Linked DNA regions of Homo sapiens: regions 1, 2 and 3 are each linked to region 4. Evidence: promoter capture Hi-C in 16 types of primary human blood cells and fetal thymus (Javierre and others, 2016). All regions are on one chromosome and are shown on one strand. The core of a region is centred on a gene start or on the middle of the fragment in contact, and the rest is flanking DNA. Distances in the headings are between cores, read along the strand shown. Region 1 has its middle 240 kb from the start of LINC01689. Region 2 has its middle 260 kb from the start of LINC01689. Region 3 has its middle 280 kb from the start of LINC01689. Region 4 holds the start of NCAM2 (neural cell adhesion molecule 2).

Region 1 (2,700 bases), core at 121-2,620, 3.1 Mb after region 4:
ATGAAGAAATAGAAAACCTTGAACATATCAATAACGAGTAATAAGATTGAAGCAGTACTGAAAAATTCTCCTATCAAAGAAAGGTCCAGGACCTGATTTCTTCATTGCTGAGTTCTACAAAACACTTAAGGAAGAAATGATATCAGCTATTCTTAAACTATTTCCAAAATCTGAAAAGAACAGAATACTTTCAAATTCATTCTATGAGGCCAGCATACCCAATCCAGACAAAGGCATAGCTAAAAAAGAAAACCACAGGCCAATATATTTGATGAACATAGATGCAAAAGTGCTCGATAAAATGTTAGCAAACTGTTCAACAACATGTCAAAAAGATCGTTCTTCGTGATCAAAAGAGATTCATTTCAGGAATGCAAGGATGGTTCAACTTATGCAAATCAAGAAATGCGATACATCACCTCAGCAAAATCAGGGACAGAAACCATATGATCATTTCAATAGATGCTGAAAAAATATTTGATAAAATTTAACATCTTTCATGATAAAAACTTTCAAAACATACCTTAAAACAATGAAGGCCAATTATGACCAGACTTTAGACAAGTTTTTCCTGCCTCTAGGTCCCTGAACTCCCTTTTTTGAGCAGTTTACCTTAGAAAACCTCTAATTGTAAACTCTTTCTCTGTTCCTTTGAGATGTAAATCCTTTAAAAAGCCTCTTGCCTGTTTTATAACCCAGGACTGTCATTCCCAAGATCCTGGGAGCCATGTCTGAAACTTAATCATCAAGGAAGATAGACTCCTCTCTCAGTTTCTGCGTGAAGGTAGAAGCCTAACTACTGTGGGTACTTTACTCCAAGTTGTAAAATTGCATCCTTTCATGAAGATAGGAGAAAGTTTATTTTCATTTGGATAAAGACAATTAGCAAACACTGAAAGACTAAGACCCCCCCATCTTCACTTTTAGGACTTCTGTGGCCCTCTATTTCAACAGAGCTGAGTACTAAGACTTGGATTGTGCTCTCTCTTTCTGCTATTGCTCATAATAGTATTAGTATAAAATCAGTTTCTGTTTGCTGGTCTCATCTGATAAAATATTTTTCTTTAACAGAGTACACATTGCAGCCAAAATATAATTAATATAAATAATCTTTGCATATGTGGGAGAAATATGCCAGAAGAAGAAATAATTTAAATCAATCTTGACTTTTTCCCAGAAAAAAATTATACATGTATATGTATATATGTGTATATATGTGTGTGTGCATGCATGTGTGCACACATACATTATATATATTAACATATATACACACACACGTGTGTATGTGTGTGTATATAAAGAATTTCTTGATGTTATTCTTTTAAAGGAAAATATACCACAAAGCATAATATAAATCCTGATTTACTAAATTTTATAATTAAATATAGTTATTATTTTTTATATTGAGAAACTCCATTAATTTAATTATAACATAACAAACCAGTAAAATAATACAAGTATTTGCCAATAGTATTATCTGCACTTATTTGATACTTGGGTTTGCTTTAAAGCATTTGACTAAAAATAACTATTAAAATTAGAAATAAGGTTAATTTAAAAATTGATATGAATATGCCATTTTCTACTTTACCACGTATCTATTTTGCCTATCATGTCATAAAATTTATATGTAAAAATTTCCACTGGCACCATACATTATTTAGGTCATTGATAAGAAAAAAAGACAATGCCAAGCACTATGTTCCATGCAGACTATTTGCCGCACACTGAATTATGTACTCCATCCCTCAAAGAGATGTTGGAGTCCTAATCCCGAGAACCTCAGATTGTATTTGAAGATACCATTTTTACAGATGTAATCAAATTTAAATGAAATCATTAGGGTGTGTCGTAATACAATGTAATTGGAATGACTGGTATAAAAAGGGGAAATTTGGGCACTGAGATAGACACACCCAGAGGCAGGATAATATGAAAAGACACAGAGAGAAGATGGCCATGAACAAGTCAAGGATAGAGGACTGGAACGGGTCTTGTCCTCACATTCTCAGGAGAAACCAATCCTGATGAAACCTTGATTTTGAACTTCAAGACTCCAAAACTGTGAGACAATAAGTTTCTGTTAAGTGGCTTGATTTGTGGTGCTTTGTTAAGGCAGCCCAAGTAAACCAATACATGATTCTTGTCAAATAAAACAAGTTTAAATATGATTATATCATATTAAAAATTAAGTTGGCAATCAAAAGGACTAATTATAAGGAAAAAATAATTTATTGGGAAATTACTCTCCTTTTAGTTATTTCCTGTTAGTTAAAGGAAAGTTAATAAAATAATGAATTTTTATTTTTTGAAATTGATATAAATGGTGGTTATTGATATAAATGGTGCTTATTCATAGACATGAAAAGCATCCATCCCCACATACCATAATTTACATATTAAAATCTAGAAAGCACTAGATTATATGTTGCCATGTTGAAGGAGCTTCTTTCAATTTTCTTCATTTTTAAACATATTTCCCCATTTATTGAATTTAGCATTATAGAAAATAATTTTCAAACTTGTTAGCATCAAATCCTTGGTGATTATTTTGTGAAAATCATAAAGTACATGGAGTCTGTATGAAATCTCATTGAGAGATTAAAAAAATATTGAAATGCTTAGGCGCTGTTTTACCACCTTTTCTTTCTCTTCTTACTTTTATTACTCATCTTCAATATAAAACCCCTTGGGCTTTTA
Region 2 (2,700 bases), core at 84-2,583, 3.1 Mb after region 4:
CTGTGGTGCTCATCCAATGTTCACTATTTTCGTGAATTTTAACTTCACACATTCATTAACACAAACCAGAAACCTAAGTGGCAAACTTCATATTTCCTTCTCCTGAAATGAGGCATCATGTTCTTTTGATTTTATCACCTAAATATTTCCCTAATTTCTCCAGTTTTCCCCATTTCTACCAATACTCTCTCCAGCTCAAGTGAACATCATCTCACCTAAAACTACATAATAGCTTTCTAACTTATATGACCATATCCTTTCTGGCTCCCTTTCTCGTCTTTTCTCCATTCTGTGGTCAGAGTGATGAAGCAATGCTGCCCATGTTTACAACCCATTGATATCTTCCTATGGCTAGTATCCTCCTGGGATGCTTTGTATTTTTGTGCTTTTAATTGATACCTTATGTTGTGCCGTCTTTCCTTTTTTGAGTAATGTCTTATCTTTAATTCTATAATCATTATGGTGAATGTCTGTATTAAGAATTTATGTCTTTGTTGGTAAATAGCAAGAGTGGCTCTGCTATTTCTACACTCCCAGGTTTCTTTCAGTTAGTCTGATATTTTCATTAAATTAAGTCATGTATTAAATCCCAAGCAGTCATATATTAGAAAGGAAAATGTCTCAAATGTGTCAATCTGATTCTTTTTATTAGATTAATGTTACAGCTGTTTTGACAGAATGTAAGAAAATACCATTATTTACAGAGGTATGACATTTAAAATAAGTTTGTTGTATTTATGCACTGATTATTTGTTTTTCAGTGGCCAAACCTTCATAGACGATAAGTTGAACTTTCAAAATATTTAATATATTGTTATCATACATTCTTAAGTACATTTAATAATTGACAAAATAGTAAAAAGGTTGCCTGTTTACCTGGCTCCCTATGCAAGAAAGCAAAGAAACAAGCTTGTAACCACATAATGAGTGCTATATGCTATTGCGTGTTTCAGTCTCACCTTATGGCAAATGAATAATTCCATAAAACTGTTTGACATTATTCTCCCCAAAATCTCTATAAAAGTAGTACCGCTTAATGGTATGCAAATCAGAACAATCTAAGGAATTTAAGATATGCAGGGGGTTTTCATAATAATAAACTGTATCACTTCTTAAGCCTTTCCTTTTGCCTATGACTATATGCCTTTTTCTTTATGATTATGCTATTTTACTTGAGATGAAATAATCTATATCATGAAATTCCCTAGGTCTCTTGTAAGTAGGATAATGGGAAATGCTTCCATACTTTTAAAATGTACGATGTTTATCAAGAATATTGATTCAAATTTATTTAATTTTTCAATGTTTACATTTAAAACATCAAAATCACTCATTTTCTACTTATTGCAGTAAGTTATAAATATTATATATTTCAGTACATGTTATTATAATTTATATTTTGAGTTTGTAAAAACAAAATATCTGATTAATTTTAAATAGTCATCAAGATCCTGTAGAAACTCTGTGTCTGTAGGTTTGTTGCTTATTATGTGTAGCTATAGTATGCCATTGACTAACCTACTTATCCCATTTCACAAGTCTTTTTGAATAAAATATATCTGAAAATAAACCAGTGTTTCTATTTCACTTTAGCATCATCATATAACCACCTCTATTCTATAATCTATAAAACAGAAACAGATTAATAATCAGGACCTGTTCTATATATCTATTCATAAGCCCTAAATCTTCATACAAGAGAACTTCTAATTACTTTTGTGTCAGAAAGTCGAAGTTGAAGCACAGGAAAAAATGTAGGAAGCTTTCTACTATGTTAATGGAAGATTGAGGAGAAGGAGTTGAAAGCCTCACTTTGGCTTCAGAACAGGCTATTTTTCTCTGATATAGCAGCCTTGATTTTGATGCAATGAACTTGATGCTGTAATTCAGTCCATATGTGATGCTGGGTCTCTTTCCCTTATTAATTAGAATCTGTAGAAAACAAGTATTGATACTATACAGTCCGACACTACATATCATATTTTATAATATGATTATATAATCTGTGCAAGTATGATTAGTAGAAATATGTTAAAAATTTTTTCTATTAGATGTATAAATATATTATTTTTATAAACCTCAATAATGTCCTTCACTTACTGTGCTAGTCTGTTTTCACACTGCTATAAAGAACTACCTGAGACTGGGTAATTTAAAAAGAAGAGAGGTTTAGTTGACTCACAGCTCCCCACGGCTGGGGAGGTCTCAGAAAACTTACAATCATGGCAGAAAGCGAAGGTGAAGCAAGGCACATCTTACATGGCTTCAGGAGAGAGAAAGAGAGAAAGAGGAGGCGGCCACACACTTTTAAACTATCAGATCTCATGAGAACTCACTCACTATCACGAGAACAGCAAGGGGGAAATCTGCTCCCATGATCCAGTCACCTCCCACCTCTCTTCCAATTTGACATGAGATTTGGAAGGGCACACAAATCCAGACCATATCACTTATATAACAATGTATGTATGTAAAATTTTTAAATATCAATAAGAACCTTTGAACACTATTTTATAGCATATATGTAATATATAACATGTTTATATATGTACATATACATGTATATGTATAAAATCTTGAAAGAAAAATTCTTTCACCCAGGATTACAAATTAGGGAAGTATGGGTTTGTATATAATCCTAGAATTATATAATTTTATTTATTAGATTTATAATAATGATTTTCTTTGGAAAGTTGAAAA
Region 3 (2,871 bases), core at 7-2,506, 3.0 Mb after region 4:
TGTAATTTAGTGGTGATTCTTAAAGGAGTTAAGGACAATTGAGCTTATACTTTAGTGTCATACCACTTACTAGCTTGGACACACATGTGCCACAGGTTTCCTATCTATAAGAGAAAGTAAGCTGGGTATATAAGCTAAATAACATATGGATCAGGAACTGTTCTGAAAAACTGAATATACAGTGATGAACAAGAAAGACAATGTGCTTAGACTAGAAACCTAAATTCTCATAAGTGGATAAAACAACAAATAAATGACCAAGATAGATTGTATGGTGTGGCATCTGTTATGAGGTAAATAAAAAAGACAGTTTGTTAAAAGTGACTCTGTGAGGAAGATGTTTTTAATTGGGTGGTTCTGGAGTGCCTCAATGAGTAGGTGACGATTGTAATGTTCCTAAATGGTTAGGAATCTAGGATCTAAAGAAGACCTTTCCTGGTAGATGAAACATAATAGAAAGGCCCTAGGGTATACATTTGCTTCATTGGTAGGAAGAGAAAGAAGGCTGTGGTCGTCCGAGGAAAGTAAGTCATTAAGTAAGTCATTAAGAAAATGGCGTGCAATAGAAATGGTGGAAACAAAGAATGGTTCAGATCACAGAAGGCCTTGGGGACTGTAATGGATGCCATTGGCTTACCCTTTTATATTCATTATCTACTCTGTCATGTGCTTTATGTATTCAGAAATGTAAACTGTATAAATTGCTGCAGTGGGTTGATTTATTTTTGGTTTTGCTGTTGGGTTTGGCAAATAGGTGACCCCAGGAGGATATCCAGAAATTAAGAAGAAAAAGAGGTGTTAGTACTACTTCACTATGACTACGGTCTGAATATTTGTATACCTACAAATTTGTATGTTGAAATCCTAACACCCAGTGTAATCATGGCAGAAGGTAGGGCTTTTGGAATGTAATAAGGTTATGATGGTATAGTCCTCATGAACGGGATTAGTGCCTTAGAAGCCTAAGAGACACCTCTTACCCCTTCCACCATGGGAGGGTCCAGCAAGAAGGCACTGTCTATGGACCAGAAAGTTGACCCTCATGAGACACTGCGTCTGCCACCTCCTTGATCTCGTACTTCTCAGGCTCTAGAACTCTGAGAAATAGATTTTGTGATGTATAGGCCACCCAGTTTATGCTGTTTTGTTATAGAAGCCTGAATGGACTGAGACACATATTGATTCACCCTGGAGCAACAGGATCCCTCTATAGAAAGCCCCAACTCCTATGAGGTAGACCTGTCCAGACAGCTACTCTTTCTGGACACTGTAACAAATCACAACCCTTCAATCATAGGCTTGGTGAAGTCTCCCTCCTGTTGCAGGCCTGAAGCCCTGTACTACTCCCTGCTGGCTCACCTAAACTCTGACTACATCTACAACAATAATCCCATTATTTAGTTATCTTTAATTTGCCAAGTTTCAATGGGCTCTCTATTTCCTGCCGGGACTCTATCTGATGAAAACATAATAGTAAGGATTTGGTTTAATTATAACATGCATATTACATGCAAAATGCCTCATGTCATTACTCACAATTAGAAAACTTAATGCATTCTCAATGACACTATGGGAAACAGTGCTACATTTGCCATCCTCTCTCTTGATCTCTTTACCAGTGACCAACAGTGGACAGACCAGGAGATTGTATTTGTAGCCTTCAAATAGCACAAACTTGAATATTTTCTAGTAAATTTCCTGATTCTTCTCTTGCGATCTCCTGACTTCTGAAAAGGCAGAATGACCTATCAGGAATACCACAGATACTAATGGGCAGGTTGCAGGTAGTCTTAAGAAAATTTCCAGGCTGGGCGTAGTGGCTCACACCTGTAATCCCAGCACTTTTGAGGTCCAGAGTTTGAGATCAGCCTGACCAACATGGTGAAACCCTGTCTCTACTGAAAATACAAAAATTAGCTGGGCATGGGGGTGCATGCCTGTAGTCCAAGCTGCTTGGGGATGGGGGGGCTGAAGCATGAGAATCACTTGAACCCAGAGGCAGAAGTTGCAGTGAGCCGAGATTGCACCACTACACTCCAGCCTGGGCGACAGAGTAAGACTCTGTCTAAAAAAAAAAAAAAAAAAATTTCCAATCCACACCCCTGCAAGAAATGGAAGATGATAAAGAGGGGAAAATGCATAATTAATTTTGCTCTCGTAAGAATCTCCTTAAAAATCTATATGAACAGGCAAAAAAGGCATTGATTGTCTGAAAAATTGGAAGGGATTTTGCAAAATGAACTGCTTGCATGCTTGAATTTTTTACACCTAAAGTATTTCTTGCTTTAAATCATTGTTAAGTCTTAGTTTCTGCTCCTAAAATAAGGAAATATTGAATATTTTAAGACAAAACATCCAATCTAAGTATATGCTGTTCATTTAAGAAAAACACAGTTTCTCTTGAGATGGCTCAGACCTGCTAGTTTTTTTTAAGCAAAATAGATAAATAGAAAGATATTCAATCCAAGTTTAGGTTTAGTGCAAACACAGATAAAACGCTTGAGTTATTCTCCAAAGCTCTAGCAATTTCTTCCCATAAAACTACATCAACATAATACATTCTGTGTTTACACAGGTAAACAGAAGCAGAGGTTTGAACAAGAATCTGGTGATTTTGATCAGCATAAACATCCAGGAACTGAATTATCTGAATAGCTGAGATCAAAATCTCCCTCTTTCTTTCACATCAGGTTTCCATTTATTTATTTAGAACATTTAGCTGATGATTAAGGACACAAGATTTGGGGAAAGAGGGGTTTGAATTTTTTAAAATTAATTTGTGTACAAAGGGAATATAAAGACTTAAACTTTGTTGGGTATTCACCAGATAAGAGCATTTAGCCCTGACTTAAGAAATGTAAATCAAATCTC
Region 4 (2,700 bases), core at 56-2,555:
ATCGTCAGCGTTTGCAGGTCGCGGTAACCCCAGGCCAGATTGACATGGGCTCCGCACCCGGGCCGGTGATTCTGCCTCTTAACCGCTCTTGCAGGAGAGGTGACGTTAATCTCACAAACGTTTTCCTACCCTTCTAGGAGAAATAACGATAAGCCCCAATCTTAAGGAGCAGAGAGTTAGTTCCGGGCGTTTGCCACGGCTCCCTCACTTCAATTTACACTCGCACACGCGGGTACGTGGGTGTTCGGGGTAGGGCACTGATCTGGGGAAGGTCTCCCCCCCGCGACCCAACTCATCTTTGCACATTTGCAGTCCTCCCTCGGTGCACTCCTGGCGGGGATCTGGCCAGTGCAGCGCACTGGGACCGAGGGCAGAGCCCGCGGAGTGAGGCCAGGAGAGACTTCAGGCCTCTAAGGACACAGCTGAGGCTAAGGCTGAGTTGAACGCAGCCCCTCCCGCGGCTCGTCCCCTCTCCAGTGTCTCTCCCGTAAGGTGCCGCTCCCAACAGCAATGGGTCGAGATGTAGAGGAAACACTCTGTACGTTATTTTTCCGCCCACCCTTTAGCGCCTGAGGAGACAGACAGTGTAGACTTTAGGGTACAATTGCTTCCCCTCTGTCGCGGCGGGGTGGGGAGCGTGGGAAGGGGACAGCCGCGCAAGGGGCCAGCCTGCTCCAGGTTTGAGCGAGAGAGGGAGAAGGAGGTCCACGGAGAGACAAGAATCTCCCTCCTCCCACGCCCAAAAGGAATAAGCTGCGGGGCACACCGCCCGCCTCCAGATCCCCCATTCACGTTGAGCCGGGGCGCGCTCGGGGCGGTCGCCTGCAGTATCAGTATCAGCATCAGCATCAGCATCAGCATCTGCATGAGCATCAGCTCAGCTCAGCTCAGCTCAGCATCAGCTCAGCTGTCCTGAGGCAGCCGGCGGCTGTGAAGGAGCTCCAGGCTGCCCCCATCCCCACGCCCTTCTCGGCTCAGGGCGTGCATGAACCTGCGGATGGCCGGCGGGCGAGTGGCGCCTTCGCGATCGCGGCCGCCCCTCTAGGCGGAGGCACCGGGGACCGAACCCGTGACTTCGAGCTCCACTGCGGACGAATCCCGGGACCGCGCGCCTCGCGGAAGAGCGGCCGCCGTGCAGCGCGGAGGGATACGCCTCGGCCGCACCTCCCCTCGCCGCGCCCCCGCCCCCGCCGCCCTCCCCGCCCGGCTCTGCTGCCGCCGCGGCGGCCGCTGCTGCTGCTGCTTCTGCCGCCGCTGCCGCCGCCGCTGCCTGGATATAGTGCGGCAAGAGCGGAGCTTGCAGTCACTTTGCGAGGAGGAGCGCGCGGGCTGCGGGCGGCTGGGGCACCGCGGGAGCGGCGGCGGCGGCTCTAGCAGAGGCGGCCGGGGCAGCGAAAGGTTCTCTCTCCAGGGCTGGACTTAATAACTTTGAAACTGTCCACCGGTGTCACGTCCTGAACATGAGCCTCCTCCTCTCCTTCTACCTGCTGGGGTTGCTTGTCAGTAGCGGGCAAGGTAGGAGTGTGGCGCTTTATTGCATTTACTTTCCCTCCCCCTTCCACCCGGCCAAGAGAGGCAAAGAGGGAGGCGCAGGAAGAATGAAATGAAAGAACTAAAGTTACAGTTATTGCTGTTGTTGTTATTATTATTTTCGTTCTTTCTCCTAGCTGTCCCTAAAATTGTATCTGTTGTGTGGAGACCCTTAAATAAGAGAAGGGAAAATACAGAATTGGAGAGGGGAATCGGTGAGCAGGATATCCAGGGAAACCGCTTCTTCTTCTTCTTTTTTTTTCCTCTGGGATTATGGCTTTCTCTTATTTTTATTATCAGAAATTGGATGAGTGTGTTAACAGTGAAATATCTGAGGTTGCGGAAGGAAAGGGCACGATGGTGTTTTACAGAAGCAGCAAAAACTATCAGTGTTAAACTCATTTGCAAAATATCTGCTGTGTGCAAGACGTTCGATTCTTGGAGACTCTTTTTTTTTTCCACCCCTTTCCCAAAACCCTAATTCCTGACTATGAAGTGAATGATGATGGCTTATTTCTGTTGGAAACTAAGAGAGGGGCCGTGGATATTGTGTGTAAGAAAGCAAATGGATAAAACTAGGGATGTGTTGCAGTCATTCATTTTGACCCCAACCCCTTATTAATACAGAAAGGTGGAATCATTTTATAACATTACATTGTAATTACACCTGTAGAGGATTTTTGGGGTTGTGGGAGAACTGGTGGAAGCTTTTATCTCTTAAAAAAAAAAAATGAATAGCCTGGTAGAATAACCTGAGAGGGAATTTGTGGAAGCTATCACTGTTTGTCTCTAGAGAGATAGATATGAATTTATCTGGCTGTTTAGATAGTAAACACTCACATGAAATATATTTACAATAAATGGAAGCATTTTCAACTGTCCAGACAAGTTTGGACGTTTAATTAGGGACACAAAATGCTAAAACATGCATTGGTGAAAGTCTTTAAAGGAAAAATAAAATAGCACTAATTTTGAGATATGTAATGATTGCAAAGAATGTTATGTTGTTAGTGTAGTGTGAAATTGGTTTTTTAAAATAATATAATAAATTACAAGACAAGTTAAAATATCCCCAAGATATTCAGTTCTAAGCATTTTTAGCCTCTTCTGTATTGCTCGTTTGGTCCAGCAGGGGGTGGTAGAACTCCATTTTAAGCCCAGAAGTTGGTT

What was found. Contacts are between HindIII fragments. The CHiCAGO score rates a contact against its expected background, and 5 or more counts as called.
Region 1: a fragment that was not itself captured here is called in contact with the fragment with the promoter of NCAM2 in region 4 in 2 of 17 cell types (total B cells and naive B cells); the score reaches 16.8 in total B cells.
Region 2: a contact is called between a fragment that was not itself captured here and the fragment with the promoter of NCAM2 in region 4, in 2 of 17 cell types (total B cells and naive B cells). The highest score is 9.6, in total B cells.
Region 3: a contact is called between a fragment that was not itself captured here and the fragment with the promoter of NCAM2 in region 4, in 2 of 17 cell types (total B cells and naive B cells). The highest score is 7.1, in total B cells.

The regions. Positions count from the first base shown.
Region 1 is chr21:24,079,646-24,082,345 of GRCh38, forward strand. No RefSeq gene overlaps it. Among named protein-coding and RNA genes, the nearest start is that of LINC01689, 240 kb to the right of the region's middle. The HindIII fragment of the contact is 5,024 bases long and covers 1-2,700 here.
Region 2 is chr21:24,058,337-24,061,036 of GRCh38, forward strand. No RefSeq gene overlaps it. Among named protein-coding and RNA genes, the nearest start is that of LINC01689, 260 kb to the right of the region's middle. The HindIII fragment of the contact is 853 bases long and covers 908-1,760 here.
Region 3 is chr21:24,040,270-24,043,140 of GRCh38, forward strand. No RefSeq gene overlaps it. Among named protein-coding and RNA genes, the nearest start is that of LINC01689, 280 kb to the right of the region's middle. The HindIII fragment of the contact is 4,421 bases long and covers 1-2,871 here.
Region 4 is chr21:20,997,104-20,999,803 of GRCh38, forward strand. NCAM2 (neural cell adhesion molecule 2) reads left to right here and starts at 1,306. Exons shown (of 18, transcript NM_004540.5): 1 at 1,306-1,515. The coding sequence starts at 1,461. The HindIII fragment of the contact is 4,236 bases long and covers 1-2,235 here.